Linked DNA regions of Homo sapiens: region 2 is linked to region 1. Evidence: promoter capture Hi-C in human tissues and cell types (Jung and others, 2019). All regions are on one chromosome and are shown on one strand. Each heading gives the region's core, a stretch centred on a gene start or on the middle of the fragment in contact. The rest is flanking DNA. Distances are from core to core; before and after follow the strand shown. Region 1 holds the start of GABRA5 (gamma-aminobutyric acid type A receptor subunit alpha5). Region 2 has its middle 9.6 kb from the start of GABRB3.

Evidence for each region. Contacts are between HindIII fragments. The study calls those that stand out against the background at their distance.
Region 2: a fragment that was not itself captured here is called in contact with the fragment with the promoter of GABRA5 in region 1 in 3 of the 25 tissues and cell types used here (aorta, heart right ventricle and stomach).

Annotation. Positions count from the first base shown.
Region 1 is chr15:26,865,757-26,869,667 of GRCh38, forward strand. It overlaps GABRA5 (gamma-aminobutyric acid type A receptor subunit alpha5), which reads left to right and starts at 1,306. Exons shown (of 11, transcript NM_000810.4): 1 at 1,306-1,355; 2 at 2,973-3,037; 3 at 3,419-3,578. The coding sequence starts at 3,493. The HindIII fragment of the contact is 20,920 bases long and covers 1-3,911 here.
Region 2 is chr15:26,780,578-26,784,723 of GRCh38, forward strand. No RefSeq gene overlaps it. Among named protein-coding and RNA genes, the nearest start is that of GABRB3, 9.6 kb to the left of the region's middle. The HindIII fragment of the contact is 3,496 bases long and covers 1-3,283 here.

The sequences.
Region 1 (3,911 bases), core at 56-2,555:
TTCAGTGATCCATTTTAGAATTAGAAAATTCAAATTAGCATCTTATTTCATTCATATTTCCTGAAGAACCACTGGAAACAGTTATTTAATAGTGTGGCTAAATGTATATTCAGAGAAACACTTCCTGTATATTTGCACATTTATGTATATTTATGTCCTATTCCTGGAATAGATTTACAAGTTTTGTTTTTCAGAAAATTTCAGAATTTCTGGAATGTGCAGAAGTATTAACAGGTAACTTAGATTTGGAATACACTGTATTAGAGATAACTGGAAAAATGAGAGGCTTCCTACACTGGAAGGTCAAAGATCTTTCCTGGAGGGGAGTTAGGAATTTGCCTTTACTTACCATTATTCTGTTAAAAGAGATTATGAATAATGCAGTTTCACAAAAGGAATGGGACAATGGTGTAAGTAAACCTCCCCATCACGTTTTCAGTGGCTTTCCTTTGAGTCTTGAACGTTTTCCACTGGGTGTTATAGTCGAGAGTCCCCCACCTCCTGAGGAAGCAAGACCTGGCAAACCCAAGACGATGCGCTCTTACTTGTGTTGTTTGAAGGGGCCCTGCTGCCGCGCAGTTGTCATTAATGCCACCCTCACCTCCCAGGAACTGCACCACTAGGACGGACGACACACCGACGTAATGACCATAGTAAGACCCCATGTACGTGGCTAATGAGGCAGTGACCCGACGTGGCTCGGAAGCCCTGCTGGGGAGATCCCGCCCCGTCACCCCAGAGGCGCTCTCCGACCTGCAGCCCCCAGGGCTCCTGGCCCTTTCCCGTTTGCCACTGCGGCTTGTTGTCAAGAAATGGAACTTCAGAAAACCCCCAGATATACACTGCGTTAGGTAAGGATTTCATTCTAATCGAGTCCAATGTGACCCTGGCTTTCCCTCCCGTAGTTATGCATTCCTGTCTATGAGTGAGATGAAAAGAATGTCCACAGGCCAGCTTCTTTCAGAAGCGCCTAAGAGATGCGCATGTAAGGGGTGCCATGGAGCACCCGGGAAGGACCCAGGCCTGGGCAGGGAGGCGTTGGGGCCGGCTCTAGGGAGCAAAGCTGTCGGAGTCCAGGCCTCTATCACCCGACTGCTGACACTGCCCTCCCATCCCTGCTCTACAAGCGGGCGGTGGTGACTACACGAGGCGCCGAAGATGCTGTTGAGGGCCCTGGAGAAACTTCAGCAGAACAGGGCCTCTCCCCTTGCAGGCCGAGCCGGGGGCCCTGCGCCCTCCCCCTCCGCCCAGCTCGGCCAAGGGCGCATTTGCTGAGCGTCTGGCGGCCTCTACCGGAGCACCTCTGCAGAGGGCCGATCCTCCAGCCCAGAGACGACATGTGGCGCTCGGGCGAGGTGAGAGCGGGCGCGAGTGCGCCGGGGGCGCTGGGGGGCTCTGCGGCGGGCGGCGCGCGGCCCGGGGCGCGGCGCGGAGCGGAGCTGCAGGGCGGCGGCGGGAGCGCGGGGCGCAAGAGCCGCTCCGCCGGGAGTGCCGGGGAAGTTCGCGCTGGCAGCATGGGGCGGTGACGCCGCACCGGCCTTCCGCGCCTGCCAGCCGGGCGAGAGCAGGCGGAGGAGAAGGAGGATGCATCCTCACCGACGGCTCGCCTCCCGGGGCCGGCGCGCAGGGTGAGCCCTGGGCGCGCTGGGCCGGGGCAGTGGGGTAAGAGGACGCGAGCGGGGAAGAGGACCGGCCGCCCCGGCTCGGTCCGCACCCTTCTCCTCGGGGCGCCTGAGCGGCAGGCTGCGTGGCCGGGGAGGAGAGGTGCAGAGCAGGCGGGGCGCGCAGCCAGGCCAGAGCGCAAACTTTACCCTGGCGACTGCGGGGCTGAAGCCGGGCGCGGGAGAGAGCGGGGTCCGGGCGGCTCATCCCTGCCGGACGGGGCACCAGGGCGCGGTGACCGGTTGGGGGTGGGGGACACCCGTTGCCACCATCACGGGAGCCGGAGGGGTGAGATCGCCCACCTGGAAAGCCAGCGTCAGCCCCGGGGCTCTGAGGCGCGCGGCGTCCCGGCGCTGCTCGCGGGGTGGACTCGGACCCCGCGGGGGTGTCGCGCGCGTGTCGCGCGGGCTGCTCGAGGCCAGGGGACTTGGAGTCGCTGCTGCACCGCGCGCTCCCAGCCCAGGAGGAAGGCGCTGCCTGGCGGAGCGCTTGGCTCGTACCCGGGGCAGGAGCAGGGGAAGTCTGCGAAAGCCGGGAGCGAGCCGGGGAGGGCCGGGGAGCTGGAGACCCTCGGCGTGCCGCTGCGGACCGCGCGGGTGGCGACCGCGGGTGCCAGGGCGACCCAGGCTGCGGCTCCGCAGTGCAGCCCCCGCGCCCACCTGCCCTGGCGCGCCGGCCCTGGTGAGCCTCTGTGGGGGTCCGGAGGGTCGTGGGAGCGCAGCCTCTCCTGGGGGTCCCTGGCTCGGGGCTGAGGGGCGGCGGGAGGCGCCGCCCGGGTTTCCCGCATGCAGCGCCGCGTGCTCGCCGCCTGGCTCTGGCCCGGGCCCCGCGACGAGCCCCCCGGACGCGCCCAGGCGACCACCGCATGGCACCCTGCCCTTCTTGGCAGGAGTCGCAGAAGGCCTTCGCTTCCGAGGTGGAAGTACCTGTTGTGTCTCCCAATTCCGGAGTTTGCGGGGGATGGGGGTTGGGGGGGCTTCTTGGGAAAATGCTTCTTTTCGAAGCATACTGTTCGGATGCCTGTGAGCACCTATTTGCGTTATGCGCATACTGAGAAATGCGTGTTTTCAGGAAGGTTAGTCGTTGAGCCCAGGGACAATGTCTGCCTGGATCTCAAATACATTAATTAGGGTCCAGCATTGAGTGGAGAGACTTCCACAGATGCAGTGCTTAAGTTATGTAGTCACGGGGACCGAATGCCGGGAAAGTAGCCACACTCTTTTATAGGCAGTTGTCACAGTATTGTGATCCTGCAGAAAACCTGTTTCTTAAATGTGCTTTTCCCCACTTCTTTCCACGTACTTTCTCAGTGCCTTGCAGAGAGAGGAGTAGCTTGCTGGCTTTGAACGCGTGGCGTGGCAGATATTTCAGAAAGGTAAAATTACTACACTTGTGGATTTGACGGATACAAAATACAGTCGCTCAGATAACTACAGCGTTTATTTTAATAATTGGACTAATGGTTTATTTGATAACATGCTAAAAAACAAAACAGAGTATTTGAGTGGAAAACAACGAATTAGGGTGATTCTGCACCCTGAGTAGAAGTAAAAATAAGCCTCTTGTTACTTATTTTTATGCTCCAACTTACTGCCCAGTGAGGGTGATGGAAAATACCTGGTGTGCAGCTGTCCTGGGGAAGGACAGCGGGCTCCTTTCTTTGCAAATTGTTGTGATAGCAGTGTGATTTGATTCCAGGAACTGTGACACAACAGCATTGATGTTCACGTGCTTCCCCGCTTTGTGTGCTTTTCAGCTTCAAGAACAAGCTGGAGAAGGGAAGAGTTATTCCTCCATATTCACCTGCTTCAACTACTATTCTTATTGGGAATGGACAATGGAATGTTCTCTGGTTTTATCATGATCAAAAACCTCCTTCTCTTTTGTATTTCCATGAACTTATCCAGTCACTTTGGGTAAGTTACCATCTGTGCTTTTATTTTATGATGTTAGGGACACTGGTGCCTTTCAGACATGTTACGGGAGCAGCACATCCATTGAGCAAGTCCTCGCCTGCCACCATTGCAGTCCCAAGCCCTTCACTTGTTGTAAATAAATGAAGTCATTGCCCTGACCCACGCTTTCTTCCTGAGCAAGGCTGCTCCTCACGTGGGGTCTCTGAAGTGAGTCAGAGAAAAAAAGGCAGATTATGTTTTCAGAAATGGAAGCTGAAGATGATATCCGAGTCAGCTGTGATTCTTCCTACTCAGGTTAAAACAAGATTCAGGAGTTCACATGCATGAAGGACA
Region 2 (4,146 bases), core at 286-2,785, 85 kb before region 1:
CACAAAATTATAAAATTAACTATAAAATTAATTATAATTTAAAAATAGTATATTTATAATTCAGCTGGGCCAATACTACCTTAATCAACAGATCTATATGAACAAATTTAAAAAATGAGGTATCTCAAAATTATGCATCTCATGATATAATGCAGTGAGAAGATTATATCAGTTTGTCATTTTCACAAAAATATACAAGCTAAATCCAATCACAAGAAAACATCAGACAAACCCAAATTAAGAGAGTTCCTACAACATAATAACCCTATAATAATCCAAAAGTGCAAATTCCATTGTGTCCAGAATTGGTGGGTTTTTGGTCTCACTAACTTCAAGAATGAAGCCACAGACCCTCGTGGTGAGTGTTACAGTTCTTAACGGCAACGTGTCCAGAGTTTGTTCCTTCTGATGATGAGATGTATTCAGAGTTTCTTCCTTCTCGTGGGTTCGTGGTCTCACTGGCTTCAGGAGTGAAGCTGCAGACCTTCACACTGAGTGTTACAGCTCATAAAGCCAGGATGAACCCAAAGAGTGAGGAGCAGCAAGATTTATTGCAAACAGCAAAAGAACAAAACCTCCACACTACAGAAAAGGATGCAAGCGGGTTGCTACTGCCAGCTAGGGCAGCCTGCTTTTATTCTCTTACCTGGCCCCACCCACGTCCTGCTGATTGGTCCACTTTACAGAGAGCCAATTGGTCTGTTTTACAGAGAGCTGATTGGTCCATTTTGACAGGGTGCTGATTGGTGCATTTACAATCCCTGAGCTAGACACAAAAGTTCTCCACCTCCCCACTACATTAGCTAGATACAGTGTCCACACAAAGCTTCTCCAAGTCCCCACCAGAGTAGCTAGATACAGAGTGTCAATTGGTGCATTCACAAACCCTGAGCTAGACACAGGGTGCTGACTGGTGTGTTTACAAACCTTGAGCTAGATACAGAGTGCCAATTGGTGTATTTACAATTCCTTAGCCAGACATAAAGGTTCTCCAAGTCCCCACCAGACTCAGAAGCCCAGCTGGCTTCACCCAGTGGATCCCGCACGGGGGTGCAGGTGGAGCTGCCTGCCAGTCCCATGCAATGCACCCGCACTCCTCAGCCCCTGGGTGCTGAATGGGACTGGACACCATGGAGCAGCGGGCAGCGCTCATCTGCTAGGCTCCGGCTGTGCAGGAGCCCAAGGCAAAGGTGGGGAGGCTCAGGCATGGCAGGCTGCAGGTCCTGAGCCCTGCCCCACGGGGAAGCAGCTAAGGCCCGGCGAGAAGTCGAGCACAGCATCTGCTGGCCCAGGTGCTAAACCCCTCACTGCCTGGAGCCCGCGGGGCCGGTTGGCCACTCCGAGTGTGGGGCTCGCTGAGCCCACGCCCACCCAGGACTCACGCTGGCCAGCAAGCCTCGCAGGCAGCCCCGGTTCCGCCCGCGCCTCTCCCTCCACACCTCCCGACAAGCTCAGGGAGCCAGCTCCAGCCTTGGCCAGCCCAGAAAGGGGCTCCCACAGTGCAGCTGCGGGCTGAAGGGCTCCTCAAGCGTGGCCAGAGTGGGCGCCAAGGCCAAAGAGGTCCCGAGAGCGAGCGAGGGCTGTGAGTGCTGCCAGCACGCTGTCACCTCTCACCAGAAAAGACTGATAAACTACTCCAAACGAAAGTAAACCAGAGACAGGAATTCTTAATGCATGCATAGTTCTGGACTCCATCATTTTGCTGTAAAATATTTTAATGAGGCAATTGATTGATCTTAAATGGGGTGTAAAGATTGAATGGCAATAATTTAACAGTATCTATTTCCTGATATTTTGATGGTTGGATTGTAATAACACTGAAAGGCTCTTTGTATGTATGAAACCACACTAAGATATGTGAGAAAAGTTTTCTGCAATGTTATGACTTCAAACTAAAAAAAAAAAAGTGTAAGGAAGTTCTGCAGATCCTCTTTATCAGATTAAGGAAATTGCCTACTATTCCTAGTTTAATGGAGAGTCTTTATCAAGAAAGGTATGCAATTTCATCAGATGCTTTTTTTTGTATCTATGAGATAATCATTAATTTTCTCCTTTACTCTTTTAACATGATAAATGACATTGATTTTTCAAATGTTAAGCAATATTTGTATTCCTAGGATAAACACTGCTTGGTCATTTTGCTTATACTTTTTACCTGTTACTGCATTTGATTGCCCAATATTATTATTAAAAATGTGTGTGCCTAAGGTCATGAGTGTTTTGGTGTATGTTTGCCTTTTCTCGCCTAGTTTTTGTATTAGTGCGATGCTGACCTCAGAAAGCAAGGTTCCATGTGTGTTCCTTTCTCCTGTAATTTTTGAAAGATTTTTCTGTAGGATTGTCATTACATCTTTCTTAAATATTTCCTAGAATTTGCCAATGAAGCCAATGAAGTTTGAACATTTTAATTTCTAAATAATAAATACATTATCTTCAGCAGACATAGGCTATTTAGATTTCTAACTTATTTCTGAACTTATTAATAAAAAATATTTATAACATTCCCTTATAATTTTTAAAGTTTGTAGTGCATGTAGTTATGCTCCCACTTTCTTTTCTGATATTAGTAGGTTGTGTCCTCTTTTTTATATTGATAAGTCTAGCTAAAAGTTGCTTACTTTCATTCATCTTTTCAAATGATCTGTTTTTGGTTGCACCACTTTGCTCTATTGTCTGTTTTGTATCATTGATTTCTGCTTTTGTTTTTACTATTTCCTTTCTTCTACTTTCTTTGGGCTTACTTTGCTTTTTCCTTTTCTAGTTTCTTAGGATTGAAGCTTAATGATTTTTAGGACTTTTCTAATACGGGCATTTAAAGCTATGTATTTCTAAGCTGCAGTAGTATTCCAAAACATTTAGTATGCTATATTTTAATTTTAATTTACTTCACTATTTTCTCATTTATTTTGATTTTTATTAGCCATAGGTATTTAGAAGTATGTTCTCTAATTTCAAACCATTAAAAGATGCTAGATTCTATTGTTATGTTTAATTTTGTTATAATCAGAGAACATATTTCCTATAGATTCAGCTCTTCTAAATTTGCTGTGATAAAATTTCTGACCTGTGCATGGTTTAGGTTGGTGATTATACCATGCACACTTGAGCAGATAGTGCATTCTGTTCTTTGGAGTATTGTATAAATGTCAATTAGGTTAAGTTGGCTGACAGTGATGTTTGGGTTTTATATATCCTTACTGATTTTCTGTGTACTTGTTTAGTCAATTACTGAGAGGGGAATGTTGATGTCTTTAAATATTATTATTATTTGTCTATTACTTCTTTCAATTCTTTGAGTTTCTGCTACTTGCCTACTTGTCTTTTCAAACTGTTATTTGGTGCATAGGCATGCAGGAGTTGTACGATTTTTTTTTTTTTTTAAGATGGATTCTTGCTCTGTTGCCCAGGCCAAGTGCAGTGGCATGATCTTGGCTCACTGCAACCTCTGCGTCCAGGGTTCAAGCGATTCTCCTGCCTCAGACTCCTGAGTAGCTGGGACTACAGGTGCGCACTACCACACACCTGGCTAGTTTTTTGTATTTTTAGTAGAGATGGGGTTTCACCATCTTGGCCAGGCTGGTCTCGAACTCCTGAGCTTGTGATCCACCCAATGAATTGTCTCTTTTATTATCTGAAATGTTCCTCTTTGTTGCTGGTAGTATTCTTTGCCTGGAGCCAGCTTTGTCTTATCTTAGTAAGTACTCCAACTCTTTTACAATTTTTCCTTTTATTTCAACCTATTTGCTTAGAGTTAAAATCTTTTTTGCGGGCTTCATTTAGTCAGGCCAAGCTTCTTTAATCATGTCTGATAATTCCTTCCTTTTAGCTGGACTGTCCAGTTCAGATCTATTTAATAGAAATGTAATGTAAGCCACACACTGAAATTTTCAAAAACATTCTGTAGCCATATTAAAAAGAGGAAATAAGTGGCATTAATTTTAGTAACATTTTATTTAACCCAATATATCCAAAATATATTTCAACCTTTAATCGATGTAATGAAAAAAAGTGTCATAGTAAGTATTCAAAATCTGGTGTGTTTTTGACACTTGCAGTGCATCTTAATTTGGGGTAGGTCCATTTCAGGTGCTCAATAGTCACAAGTGGCTATTAGCTACCATTTTGCACAATGCAAACCTAAACTAC